Linked DNA regions of Homo sapiens: region 2 is linked to region 1. Evidence: promoter capture Hi-C in human tissues and cell types (Jung and others, 2019). All regions are on one chromosome and are shown on one strand. The core of a region is centred on a gene start or on the middle of the fragment in contact, and the rest is flanking DNA. Distances in the headings are between cores, read along the strand shown.

Region 1 (2,734 bases), core at 61-2,560:
GAGCGAAACTCCATCTCAAAAAATAAAAAATAAAAAAGCATCCAAGATTTCCAGAAGCTTCCAGACATAGCTTGCAAAATGATGTTGTGGAAAAAGCGCAGCCTCATTTGGATGAGCTCCTTACTACCTGTGTGGCTTTGGGCAAGTAATTGCTTTAAGCCTCATTTTCCCCAAGTGTAAAATGGGGATAAAATAATACCTCAGAGGTAGCTATTAGAGATATCGTCATTGTCGTCTTGTTTTGATTCCCCCCCCCCCCCCGAGATGGAGTCTTGCTCTGTCGCCCAGGCTGGAGTGCAGTGGCGTGATCTCGGCTCACTGCAACCTTTGCCTCCCAGGTTTAAGCAATTCTGCTACTTCAGCCTCCAGAGTAGCTGGGATTACAGGCGTGCGCCACTAAGCCCAGCTAATTTTTGTATTTTTAGTAGAGACGGGGTTTCACCATGTTGGCCAGGCTGGTCTCGAACTCCTGACCTCGTGATCCGCCTGCCTCGGCCTCCCAAAGTGTTGGGATTACAGGCGTTAGCCACCGCACCCGGCCTTGTTTTGATGATTAATCTGCCTCTATTACAGGCTTATTTGGCTGTACCCTGGCCGCTTCTTTCCTTATCCCTCTCCCTAGCTGCTCGCCATAAAGAGCAGGCTGTACTACTTATGTCCGCTGTGTCCGTCCATGACACAGAGTTGGCAAATACCAGACCCTCAGCACATTTGTTGAAATGGATGAATCTCAAAGGATTCTCTGGGAATCTGGTGGCTAGAGAGGGGTCGGGACCGCGAGGGACTCTCGCGCTCAGCAAGGCGAGGAGCTGCTTTCCTGGAGTATGGAAACTGAGTCAGCGCCTCCCTCCCTCATAACCAAGGGCCTGCGGGACTGTCTGAACACGTGGGTTTGACAGGTCAGAAAAAGGGAGAACCAAGAGAGTGGATGCTCAGAAAACATGAATGGGAAAGACAGACTGAGAAGGAGGAAAGTGGGATGGAGAGGGCCAGCTGAGACGTGGGCCAGGAGCCGGAGCGGAGATGAAGGGTGAGGACCGGGGCGGGGGACGAGCTGCGAGGAGGGTTTTGGGCCCTGGGGACTGCGTGGTAGCAGCGGAGGCGGGTACAATGCTCCGACGCAGAAGGAAGAGCGTCGAGGCTCCGGGTGGGACCTGAGAAGGCACCCGGCGTGCGGCGGCGCTGGGTTGGAACCGCCGACTCCGCGGGTCTTCGGCGGCGGGCGCTGCAGGTGCAGGAGGCGGAGCCACGCGGGGGCGGGGCCTGTCGGGGCGGGGCCGACGAGGGCCGGGGGCGGGGCGCGCCGCTTGTCTCCTGCGAGAGCCGCGGGGGCCGCGGAGCTGGAGCCGGAGCTGAAGCCGGAGCCGGGTTGGAGTCTGGGCGGGGGCCGGGCCGGAGCGGGCTCCAGAGACATGGGGTCGACCGACTCCAAGCTGAACTTCCGGAAGGCGGTGATCCAGCTCACCACCAAGACGCAGGTGCGCCACGGGGGCCCCGGCGTCCCCATCCACCTGCCGGGCTGGGGGCTGGGCAGGGCCGGGGGTACGCGAACTTGGCTCGTCGGGAGATGGGGGGACGGGCGGGCCCCGAGCGTAACGCCAAGGCCAGCGCCGGAACGGGACCCCGCGGCCTGTACCTGGAAGCTCCATCCCCTGGCCCTAGTCCCCCACCCTCAGCCTCCTCTCCTGGGAACACCCCTCTCCCCGAAGCCGCTGCTGCCACCTTAGGCTGACGTGTGCCTACTCCCCGAGCCGGCGACACAGCTGTCCGCCCCCTGTCCCGCCCCGCGGCGTCCCCAGCTTCGCATCTCCAGCCTCCCGCCGCCCCCACCCACCCATCCACCGTCCGCTCCCCTCCCTGCCCCTCATTGCCCGCGGGTCCCGGACGCACAGTCCCTGTTGACTCAATGCAAACAAAGCCTGGCTGGCGTCCGCCCGGGTCGGAGAAACAGCTGGTGTGCGCGGCAGCGGCCTCGCTGGGCCCTGGTCGATGCCCGTGGGCAGGGAAGGCCCAGGTCTTCCTGGGAACACGCAAAGAGTGGCGGGCAGCGAGGCAGCCTGGTGGGGGGCCCTGTCCCCAGGCCTACTGAGCACAGCCTCCCAGCTGGGGACCTCTCCAGGGGCCTTCCCCGAGGCCCTGCAAGGGAAAGGCTGTTAGCCTGTGTGCTCTGTTCTCTGGCTCAGGGATGGGGACCCGCAGGATGGCCCTCAGTCAGCTGGTGAGGGGCCTAAGGACCCTCCAGCCTAGTCCATGCTCATAACTCTCCTGTGAGTCCACAAGTGGCCCAATAGCCACCTCCTTATACCACCTGGCCCCAGCAAGACTGCTTCTCTGCCCACCCCTTCTCTCCTGGCTTTTTGAATCAGGCCACCGTGGCCACAGAGATGCTCGGCCCTGACTCCCCATGTCCCCCATTTTCAGGGGACACAGGACCTGCTGCCATCTGGGATCTTCCTCTTTCCTGGCCCCCCCACCTCCTGCTCTCCAGGGCTCTCTCTTGCTGCTGGAGGTTAGAGTGGGATGGAGGAAGCCAGCTCCCACAGCCAGCTGGTCACAGCTCCAGGGGCCAGACCTTGCTCCCTCACCCCTTTCCCCACCCTGGAAGGGTCAAATGTGCAGCAAATGCCCAGGGCCTCTGGAGAGTCCAACCCCGGCTGAAAGGCTCTTGATAGAAACCAGACCGCACTTCTCTCCATTCCCTACGGCTCCTGGGTCGTTCTGGAGCTTGGCTTTT
Region 2 (2,700 bases), core at 193-2,692, 550 kb before region 1:
ACCATGCCCAGCTAATTTTTGTATTCTTAGTAGAGACAAGGTTTCACCATGCTGGCCGGGATGGTCTCCATCTCCTGACCTCATGATCCACCTGCCTCGGCCTCCTAAAGTGCTGGGATTACAGGTGTGAGCCACTGTGCCTGGCCTCCTGGCTGTGAATTAAGGCTTTAAGGCAATGCTGTTCAAAAAAGAGCCACTAGCGACAGGTGGCTATTTAAGTTTGCTTTTTTTTTTGAGATAGAGTTTCGCTTTTTCGCCCAGGCTGGAGTGCACTGGCAAGATCTCGGCTCACTGCAACCTCAGCTGCCCAGGTTCAAGCAATTCTCGTGCCTCAGCCTCCTGAATAGCTGGGACTATAGGCGCCTGCCACCACACCTGGCTGATTTTTTTTTTTTTTTTTTTTTGGTATTTTAGTAGAGACAGGGTTTCACCACGCTGTCCAGGCTGGTCTCGTACTCCTGAGCTCACGCGATCCGCCCGCGTCGGCCTCCCAAAATGCTGGGATTATAGGCGTGAGCCACCACACCAGCCTATTTAAGTTAGATTTAAATACATTTAAATTAAATGAAATTAAACATTCAGTCCCACAGTTGCTCTAGCCCCATGTATTAGACATCACAGACACAGAACATTTTCATCATTACAGAAAGTTCTATTGGACAGAGCTGCTCTAAGGGATAACCTCTCATTTGTGTGAGCCTGCCTCTTGTTCAACTCTTGTTTGCAAGTACACTGATTTTGCACAGTGAGTGTGTTCTGTGTGACTCCTCACTAAATGCAAGCTCTGTGAGGGCAGTGATTTTGCTCTTCTGTTCTCAGCGATGTGTACAGGGCCTGACCCCCAGCAAATAATAAATATCGTTGATCATTCTCACAGGTGAACCACTGTACACGTCCACGATTATTTCCTTAGGATAGGTTCCACTTTCAGAAAAGAAAAGATGTAGAGCTGGGCGTGGTGACTCATGCCTGTAATCCCAGCACTTTGGGAGGCTGAGGCGGGAGGATCATTTGAGGTCAGGAGTTCGAGACCAGCCTGGGCAACACAGTGAAACCCCATCTGTACTAAAAATAAAATAAAATAAAAAAATTAGCCAGGCATGGTGGCACACGCCTGTAATCCCAGCTACTTGGGAGGCTGAGGCAGGAGAACTGCTTGAACCCAGGAGGCAGAGGCTACAGTAAGCTGAGATCATGCCACTGCACTACAGCCTGGGCGACAGAGTGAGACTCCGTCTCAAAAAGAAAAGAAAAGATGTGCCTGCTTTAGAGCTTTTGTGACATACTGTAACTGCAAAAGCTGTACCCGTTTCCACTCCAAGTCTGAAGGTCTCTGCCTTTTACCAATGCTGGATTACTAAGGTGATGAAGGAAAAAACATTTAACCTGGCATGAAAAATGTGAAACCCTACTAATGGTAAATTCTTCACCCAGTCCTTCATTTAAGCATACACTCTACATACCTGCCTGCGCACCTACTAAGTGCCAGGCACTGTTCCAATCCTGCCTCTCAGTGCTCACACACACTCAGCTGCAGGCGCAGGTCATCTGAAGATGCGGCTCGAGTTCATAAACCAGAATAAAACAAAATGACCTGGATTCCTCCCAACCTGCCTCTCTCAGAACGCTTCCAGCAGGCGCCCCCAGTCTGTGCCCAAGGAACTGCACTCCAGCCAAGGGTTCCAGGTAAGGAGAGGCCATTTTCTACCTTAGACTAGTCAGCCAGGTCCCAGGACTAGAATATATGGAAGGGGAACAGGAAGGGGATTTACCTTGGTTGGAATCGTCGAACCACATAACCCAACCTCTTCAGGTGGCTGAAGACCTCAAAAGAAAAAAAAAAAATGAAAGCTCAGATGGCCACTCTGGAAAACACCAAATGGTTTCTCCAGACACAGGCCATCCCCACAGCCCTCTCTGCCCCTCCTGTACACCCCCAGATTCTAAACCCTGTGATTAAGGTTGGACCATGCTTCATTACGAACACCATCCCTAAAGATCTCAGGCTCTGAATTCCTGTCCTCCCACTTACCTTACTCGGCACAAATGACATTTAGCCAAATCCAAAAAAACTGATAGCCATGAAACCAGAAAACCACCACGCCCTGAAATACTTGAGTATTTTGATACAAAGCTCATAGGAGTGAAGCTGCCGATCACCATGTGAACAAAATGATGGCAGGTGGTGGGCATCTCTCCAGCCCCACACCTCCACAGATGCCGGTGGGAAGTTTCTGGTAGGGAGCCACATATTCAACCTTGTGTCCCTGCATTCATATCAGAGGAACATAGATAAGAATGTCCCCCATCCTGCTTGATCTCAGCAGGCTTTAGCACAGCTAACCACTTCCTCCTTGAAAGACCTTCTTTTGGCTTCTGTGATGCGACTTTGGTTTTTCTCCTGCATCACCAGACACTCCTCGGTCTGTTTCTGCTTCTTATCTGCCCCCTAACCTACACAGAGAGCCCCAGGGCTCAGACCCAGCCCTCTACTCTGATGGCACTCCCATACAGCCCAGTAGTTTAAATACCATCCATGTGCTCATGGCACCCATATTTACATCTAGCCTTGACCTCTCCTCACACTCCAGACTTGGATTCCAATTGTCTGTCTGCTTTACACTCACTTGGATGTCCAAGAAGCTCCTCAAAATTAACTTATCTGACACAGTTCTTTCGACTGGTCTTGTCCTCCCAAAT

The links. The method cuts DNA at HindIII sites, captures the fragments that hold promoters and counts their contacts. A contact is called where the count stands out against the background at its distance.
Region 2: a fragment that was not itself captured here is called in contact with the fragment with the promoter of HID1 in region 1 in 1 of the 25 tissues and cell types used here (lymphoblastoid cells).

The regions. Positions count from the first base shown.
Region 1 is chr17:74,971,335-74,974,068 of GRCh38, reverse strand. HID1 (HID1 domain containing) reads left to right here and starts at 1,310. Exons shown (of 19, transcript NM_030630.3): 1 at 1,310-1,478. The coding sequence starts at 1,413. All of the region lies in intron 1 of HID1-AS1 (HID1 antisense RNA 1), which reads right to left. RefSeq lists a silencer at 1,246-1,355. The HindIII fragment of the contact is 11,502 bases long and covers 1-2,734 here.
Region 2 is chr17:75,518,120-75,520,819 of GRCh38, reverse strand. TSEN54 (tRNA splicing endonuclease subunit 54) reads right to left here. Exons shown (of 11, transcript NM_207346.3): 6 at 1,773-1,825. Among named protein-coding and RNA genes, the nearest start is that of TSEN54, 2.9 kb to the right of the region's middle. The HindIII fragment of the contact is 6,204 bases long and covers 1-2,700 here.